Regions from separate parts of the Homo sapiens genome. Here region 1 is linked to region 2. The links are contacts of gene promoters, found by promoter capture Hi-C in blood cells and fetal thymus (Javierre and others, 2016). All regions are on one chromosome and are shown on one strand. Each heading gives the region's core, a stretch centred on a gene start or on the middle of the fragment in contact. The rest is flanking DNA. Distances are from core to core; before and after follow the strand shown. Region 1 overlaps LOC105371059 (a long non-coding RNA gene). Region 2 holds the start of TIGD7 (tigger transposable element derived 7).

Region 1 (4,282 bases), core at 833-3,332, 73 kb after region 2:
AGATTCAAGCGATTCTCCGGCCTCAGCCTCCTGAGTAGCTGGAATTACAGGCGCACGCCAACAGGCCCAGCTAATTTTTGTATTTTTAGTAGAGATGGGTTTTCACCATGTTGACCAGGCTGGTCTCAAACTCCTGACCCCAGGTGATCTGCCTGCCTTGGCCTCCCAAAGTGGTGGGATTACAGGCTTGAGCCATCACGCCTAGCTCTTTCTTTCTTTTTAAATGGGTCTCTTTTTGCCTTTTCTACCTTTAGACTGTAAAAACTGAGTGAAAGTGAAATGGAAGTAATGAAAGGTTTTGGAATTGATTTGACCTATGTTCAAAATCTAGCTCCTCTCCCTTGGGGCAGTGACCAGGTCTTCCATATCTCTCTTTGCCTGGCACATTATAAACATACCTGGGCAAAATAAATATCAGTTTTATCATACTGTATTTAATGAACAAATGAACTCACTGACCGACTGAAGAATATGGTGTTGGGAGAGTTGTAGATGTAGCCATCAGTAATGCCTGTTGGAGGTTGTTTGGCGCTTGTTTATCCTGCCTGGTAAAACTCAAGACATATCCAGTAATAGCTGGCATATGTGAAGCTTTTACAGTGTGGTTGGTTACATGTAAATGGCTTCCACACATGAAAGCACTTAACCCTTTAAACCCCTCTGAGAGGTAGACATTGTCATCACTGACTGTAAGATGAAGAGGCTGGGCTCAGAAAGGTTAAGTACTTGTGTACTTACTTACCTACTTACGTAAGTGTCCAAAGACACACAGCAATAGGTTATAACAAAATTAGAAGTTAAACCCGGTTTGTCTCACTCCAAAGCCCTCACTACAGCACCATACTAACACTTTTTGTTGGAATCTGCAGAGCTGGAGGTTCATTCGTTGTCTGATACTGACCTTAGGCCCCAGTGTCCTCTCTCTCTAAGAAAGGGGTTCATGTCTCTCAAACAGGCATAAGCACACAAAAGCACTTGGAAAACTGCCCCAGACTGACAAATCAGAATCTCTGGTGGTGGCATCTAGGAATCCTCATTTAAGAGAAATTACAGATGAGGGGAAAATGTCCAGCTCTTTCATTTAGTCACTGTGCAAGTCACCTAACCTAGGAGGGCAGGTATGAATTGGGGCTACCAGGAAACCAAGACTTTACTTACAAATCTCCATAAATCTTAAATCTATGAAAAACTCCAGACTTGCTCCTGGAATGGCCAACTGTAAGGGTAGTGGCTGAGCTGCTGCAGGAGTACAGCTTCCTCCAGATGCCACACAGGTCAACACCAAGTTCACAGCTTTCAGGCTGACTACGATGGGGAATGGTGGGGCCGCTTGCTAGAGTCCCATATTCTCTGTAAGTGAAGAACACTCAGTCCTTCTCTTGGTCTCTACCCAGAAACCAAGTTACGGTTGAGTCTATTTCCAGGACTGTGAGGAGCCAAGGATTCTGCCTGTGATGAAGTCAGCTATGAAATGGGTGCGTTTTTGTGCCAGGATCCCAGAAGTTCTGGGCTGTTTCCAGACTGAACTCACAAGAGAAGCAGCAGAGAGGTAGCCAGAGGAAAGGTGAATGAGGCGCCCAGCTCTTGTTTGGCTCTGACCGTCTGACAGCCACTGTCAGCTGAGAGGAGCCATGGTAGAACTATGGACCAGTGACGGCCAGTAGGCTCTGCCCAACTTCTCTGGGTTGTAGCGAGACGATTGATCCAGTCTACAGGGACTGGTTAGGAATCTTTGGAAAAAAGGAATAGTGTCAATTGAAAAAAAATTATATCAACTAGTTAAAATGTTTCAGTGAGGGAAGGAGGTATGGAAACAGTGTAGAGAGCCCACTGTGTAACTTACCAGGGAATGACCTGGTTTTTTAATGGGCCTCTGAAGGGCTGCACCAATCCTGGAGGGTAGTATTAGACATAAGAGGAAATCTGTAGACTTGGGGTCTTGCCTTTTGTACAACATACTTCCAATACATTCTCAAGTGGTTAGTGTTGTATTGGGCTTGTTAAGCAATGGAAAGTCAAATAGTGAGGGCCTGTGGTCAATTGACTGAGAGAAACAGCCCTGAACTGTCATTCTGAGTGTACCCTCCTGGTGGAAGGTATGCACTAGGGTGCTGAAGAAACAAAGACCTTCCTCACCATCCTTGATAAACAGCAGTTTAGTGAAAATACCTAACCTGGTACTGATAATGCAAGGTGCCCAAAACAATAGCTGTGCAGCCTGAGGAGCTGGGTTATTTGCACATCCAGAGCTGTGTCACAGCAAGTTGAAGTGTCTCCAGATGAACGTCACAAGGAGAGCAGCAGCCATGTGCCAAAGCCCTGTCCCCTCCATGAAGAAATGGACCAGAGGACATTGAGGAGCCAACCTGGCTGGACTCCTAGCCCCCAAGACCCAGCCCAAAAGCTAAGTGGTAGTAAACATTCCCTCCTAGAAGAGTTACATAAAAGACTTAGTAAGAAGAGAGCCCTCTGCACCCTGGGAAACCTGGATTATAATTCTGTCTTTACTGTGGATTGAGCCAAAGACTGTTGTGTGCCCATCCTTCCTCCCTCTAAGAAGTATTTCCATTTCTAGAAGAGAGATGATAATCTACTCTCCCTCTCAAAGATACCACTTAGAGGGCCTGCTTTCCATGTGGGGTTGTATCTCTCCTTTCTTTCTGTGAGTTACTTTTCCCTCTCTGACCTCCACTTATTTGAGTTTCACCCATTGACCCAGATAATAATAGGAAATCCCTAGTAATAGACATAGATGAGAACTCTCTCCTTCACCTCCATAACTAATCTATCACCGCTACATTATGTTGACTATGCGCCCAAAATGTACAAAACCCATCCACTTTTTTCTGTATCCACTGCCATCACTAGACTAGACAACTGAGTTTCTAGACCTCACAGCTAAGAAAGTCTTACCTGGTCTCTTTGCTAGCACTTTTTTTTTTTTTTTTTTTGAGATGGAGTCTCACTCTTTTGCCCAGGCTGGAGTATAGTGACCTGATCTCGGCTCACCGCAAGCTCTGCCTCCCGGGTTCACGCCATTCTCCTGCCTCAGCCTCCCGAGTAGCTGGGACTACAGGCACCCACCACCATGCCCAGCTAACTTTTTGTATTTTTAGTAGAGACAGGTTTCACCCTGTTAGCCAGGGTGGTATCGATCTCCTGACCTCATGATCCGCCCGCCTCAGCCTCCCCAAGTGCTGGGATTACAGGCGTGAGCCACCGCGCCCTGCCCCTTGCTACCACTTTTAGCTCTTCTGACCTATTCTCCACACAGCAGCCAGAATAAGAGAATTGTGTCTTTCCCTGCCTAATTATTCAGTGGCTTCCCATTATACTTATCATAAAATCCAAACTCTTAGCATCACATGTGATAATAAAGTCCAGTCAGGAAAACAGAAACCATTCTTGATGTTTCAAAGAGGGGACTTAATGTAAAGAATTTGTAAAGTGGGTGTGGTAGAATTGAAAAAAAAAGTGTAAAGGGAAAACTGCAGTGACAGAGATAGTAACTGTAGGAAACAGCTACCACACATGGGGTCTGGATAGAGAAAGGGTTGGGTTTACCAGACCTTGGAAGCTTGGAAGAGAGGCCCCGCAGAGCTGGGACTTGGATTTGGCGAGGGTGCTGGGGGTTGGGAGCTGGGAGCTGGGCAGTGTTGCCTGACTGGTGCTGATACCTCTGAAGAGTCCAATGAGGCTGCTTCTGGAAGAAGCTTTGTTCACTGCTTTTTTTTTCCGCTTAACATGGGGAATCTTGCACGCTGGAGTGCAGTGGTGTGATCTTGGCTTACTGTAACCTCTGCCTCCTGGGCTCAAGCCATCCTCCCACCTCAGCCTTTCGAATAGCTGCAAGCACGTACCACCACTCCAGGCTAATTTTTTATATTTTTTTGTAGAGATGGGGCTTTGCCATGTTGCCCAGGCTGGTCTCAAACTTCTGAGCTCAAGCGATCGGCCCACCTCAGCCTCCCAAAGTGCTGGGATGACAGGTGTGAGCCACCACCCCTGGCCCTGTTCACTGCTTTATATTTGGCTCCAGTACCTCATATATTATAGGCAATCACATGTTTCCGGAATAAATGAATGGATTCTCCCAACCCTTACCTGTCTACTTCAGGTCATCTAGAGTGGCTGACAGGCATGGATTGGAGACTCTAACGGTACTTGTTTTCATTTTTCTGCCCAGCAGACTAGAGGACAAAGCAGCCTGGAGGGCAGAGGCAACCTAAACATGCAAGGAGTTCAACAGTTGTACCCCCATTTACCTGGCCACGGTAGGCCC
Region 2 (4,130 bases), core at 541-3,040:
TCACTTAAAAAGGATCAAGATCTATGCCTAAGAGGAGTTACATACCATCCCATCCAAAAGCAAAAATAGCATAATGGCCTGGTAATGGCCTCTCATCTTCATTCTCACCTTAAACTTACCTTAGATGAACTGCCATAGAAAGCAGCTCAGTCCAAAACGCTCAAATGGTGCTCCAGGATTTACTTTTTTGTATTGTTTTGTTTTGTTTTTTGCGACGGAGTCTCGCTCTGTCGCCCAGGCTGGAATGCAGTGGCGTGAACTCGGCTCACTGCAAGCTCCGCCTCCCGGGTTCACGCCATTCTCCTGCCTCAGCCTCCCGAGTAGCTGGGACTACAGGCGCCCACCACCACGCCCGGCTAATTTTTTTTTGTATTTTTTAGTAGAGACGGGGTTTCACCATGTTAGCCAGGATGGTCTCGATCTCCTGACCTCATGATCCGCCCGCCTCGGCCTCCCAAAGTGCTGGGATTACAGGCGTAAGCCACCGCGCCCGGCCAGGATTTACTTTCTTAAATGCACTCTTTTCATTCCCATTCAAAGGACTCCAGTATAAGTGCCACATAAACTCGTTTTCTAACTTTTAAAACTCTTCCTCTAAATGCAGCCCAACTCAGTAAAAACGTACCTAAGATCTCACAGTCTAATGTTTCCAGCTTTTAAAGCCTTTACTCCTACCCTTCCCTCTGCCTGGAAAGTGTCTCCATTCCCTGCTGTGGACAAAATCCCTCAAGGTCTTTTATAATTTCCCCCAACCCCAAATCAACTTGGATTTTCTTGGAGTTCTCACAGCATTCAGTTTATGTCCTATTCTTACCCTTGTGTTACTGATATTCACGAAATTGCTCAGTCCTTTCAAGAGATTGCTTAAGGACAAAGACTTCTTACTCAACTCTGCAATATTGGCTACACATAGCTGACTTAATAAATAGTCCCTTGACTGGTATAAGCTGACGTTACAAAAACTGGTAATTCCGAAACCACTCATACTGGACTTATTAAATAATCCCTCAACTGGTACAGACTGACATTACAAAAACGGATTAATTCAGAGATCACTGAACACCCAAAACACTCAGATTCTTATAACTATGATTCAGTAAATATGTGTGGAATGCCTATCTTACCAGGTGACTATGTTAGGCGCTGCATGAGATATAAGATGAAAACAAGGTTCCCATTTTCCAGGGAAGAATACTGGAGTGGAAAACGCAGAGGATACCACAACAGGAGAGCTATTTCCGATTAGCGGCCGCCACTGCTGAGCTATGTGACCCTGAGCAAGTCACTTCTTAGGTCTCCGTTTCTCTGTCAAGGAGAGATAGAAAAAGAACCTATTTCACAGGTTCAAACCTACCTCAAGAAAAAATAGTTGTGGGGAATGCGTCACGAGACCTAGAAAACGGTACAAAACCCTCGGGGGGCCGCTGTTTCTGACCTAGCGAGTGGCCCGACCCGGACAAAATGCCTCTTCCTCGAGGAGGCGGCGACGAGCCCAGCAACAGCTCGAGCACGGCCGGCCGGGCCGCGGGAAGCCCGAGAACGCGGCGCGCGCAGCTGGGAGGCGACCCTTACCCGGCGAGGCTCCCGGGACCAAACGCCGCCCGACAGCCACGCAGAACAGACGCGGCAGTGCGACGCCTCCCCCACTGGGGACACGAGACAGCGACAGCCACGCGGTGAGCCGGTACAAGGCCCTCTAGGCTTCAGCGGGTCTGGATACTCGGTGGCATTAACCCTTCCCTACCGCCGGGGAAGACAGCAGTTTCTCTGGCGAGGAAGTAGGCCGGGCTCAGGCGCCTTAGCCAGAGGGCGGGCCTGCGCCACCCTCGGAAAGCGTCACTTCCACTTCCGGCCGGCGCTCTGGCTCTGTACCTGGACAGGGCTGCGGTAGGCCAGCGGTGGGCTGGCGGTTGCGCTCCTCAGATCGGCGGCCTTTCGGGCGGTGGCTTGCGTTTGAGCCTCAGAAAGCGAGGAGCGGCCTCCACGGAAGCCAAGCTGGCCGAGGTAACCGAGAAGCGGCTTCCCCTATGGCTTCGACCCTGGAGCCGCTGGAGCGGCGGCGGCCGCAGGGAGGCAGCCATTTTCCGTAGGCGGTGGCCGCGGCGCTTCCGGGCCGCGCGGCTGGAGCCTGAGGCGGGGCCACCGTCGGGCACGAGAAACCATTCTCTCCCCGCTTTTCGCAGCTGTATCCCAGAGGCGCGGCTGAAGCTCGCTGGGACACTGCCCGCTTGCCCAGTGCCCACGGGCACGCCTGTCGCAGACACAGGCTGTGGCGAATCCGAGTGCTGGCGGGCAGCAGTGCCTGCAGCTGCGCCCGCAGACTCTTTCCCGCCTCCGCCGGCATTTCCGTGTCCGGCCGATGTCATGCGGTCGGTTGAGCCTCAGGGCTAGCAGCTTCTACTGATGCAAAAACATAGGAAGTGTCTCTTTGCTTCTGGAACCGGGGTGGGCAGCAAGGAGCTGGCCACTTCTTTGAATACCGGTGGCATCCTGGGCAGAATTTCGGTGCCGTTTCTGCTGGCTCACTTCAGGAAAAGTGAGGCTCACGGCTCTCCTCAGCCCCCCTTAGAAGTCTAAATGACCTTTGGAGAAATACAAAGTCAGCAGAAAGTTTCACTTTCATCGTCACCAACTCCTGTTGGAGTTGATATTTCATAAACATCAGCGACAGAAAGAAAATACGACTTGATATTTTGTAAATAAAATATCCTTTTTTACAAGTTGATATTTTGTAAACAGAGGTCAGCTGTAATTTTCTCCAGATCAAGTAAGCACAGTTAAAAATTCATATAGGCCTGGCGCGGTGTTTGACGCCTGTAATCCCAGCACTTTGGGAGGCCAAGATGGGTGGATCACGAGGTCAGGAGATCGAGACCACCCTGGCCAAGATGGTGAAACCCTGTCTCTACTAAAAACACAAAAATTAGCCGGGCATGGTGGCACGCGCCTGTAATCCCAGCTAGTCGGGAGGCTGAGGCAGGAGAATGGCTTCAACCGGGGAGGTGGAAGTTGCAGTGAGCTGAGATCACGCCACTGCACTCCAGCCTGGGTGACAGGGCGAGACTCCATCTCAAAAAAAAAAACAAAATTCGTATAAATCATCTGCATGGCACCCTTTATGTGTGTTGCAAAGAATGATGAGCATCTTGTTGCTTACTTGGGAGACATTGTCTGAAAATAGGCTACTTTTTTACTTTCTGTAGTACCCCCTCCCCCCACTGTATCTGGGTTTCACTTACCCGCTGTCAACTGCCATCCAAAAAATATTAAATGGAAAACTCCAGAAATAAACAGTTCATAAGTTTTAAATAACTTTTTTTTTTTTTTTTGGAGATGGAATCTCGTTTTGCTGCCCTGGCTGGAGTGCCGTGGCACAGTCTGAGCTCACTGCAGCCTTCACCTCCCGGGTTCAAACAATTTTCCTGCCTCAGCCTCCTGGGTAGCTGGGACTACAGGCGCGCACTACCACACCTGGCTAATTTTTGTGTTTACAATAAAGAAGGTTTCACCATGTTGGCCAGGCTGGTCTTGAAGTCCTGGTCTCAGGTGATCCACCCACGTCAGGCCTCCCAAAGTGCTGGGATTACAGGCATGAGCCACGGCGCACCGCCAGTTTTAAATAACTCTTACTACAGTGTTTTATTGTTAATCTCTTATTGTACCTAATTTATAAATTAAGGTATCATAGCTATGTATACATAGAGAAAATAGTATAATGCAGTTAGATGCTGTTGGGGGTTTTAGGTATTCACAGAATGTACTGGAACTTACCCCCCTTGGAGAAGGGATACTACTGTATTTTGATCTCACCGTCTCAGCTCTTTTGCCAGTATTCCTACAATGGAAAATCTAAAATGTTGTTTTTTAAGGTGCCTTTATTTTTAGTTTTTAAATTAGAGACAAAGTCTTGCTCTAACTCCCAGGCTGGAGTGCAGTGATGAGGTCATGGCTCACTGCAACCTTGAATTCCTGGGCTCAGGCGACTCTCCCACCTCAGCCTCCTGAGCTAGAACTACTGGTGTGCTCTACCATCCTGGCTATTTTTTTTTTTTTTCTTCAAATTTTGTGTTTTGTAGAGACGGGGTCTCGCTATGTTGCTCAGGCTGGTCTGAAACTCCTGGCTCAAGTGA

The links. Contacts are between HindIII fragments. The CHiCAGO score rates a contact against its expected background, and 5 or more counts as called.
Region 1: a contact is called between a fragment that was not itself captured here and the fragment with the promoter of TIGD7 in region 2, in 1 of 17 cell types (erythroblasts). The highest score is 5.9, in erythroblasts.

Annotation. Positions count from the first base shown.
Region 1 is chr16:3,376,061-3,380,342 of GRCh38, forward strand. The region is part of intron 1 of LOC105371059 (a long non-coding RNA gene); the gene reads left to right. Among named protein-coding and RNA genes, the nearest start is that of OR2C1, 22 kb to the left of the region's middle. The HindIII fragment of the contact is 2,986 bases long and covers 590-3,575 here.
Region 2 is chr16:3,303,640-3,307,769 of GRCh38, forward strand. It overlaps TIGD7 (tigger transposable element derived 7), which reads right to left and starts at 1,791. Exons shown (of 2, transcript NM_033208.4): 1 at 1,573-1,791. ZNF75A (zinc finger protein 75A) reads left to right here and starts at 1,858. Exons shown (of 7, transcript NM_001302109.2): 1 at 1,858-2,004. RefSeq lists an enhancer at 1,352-1,881. The HindIII fragment of the contact is 19,814 bases long and covers 1-4,130 here.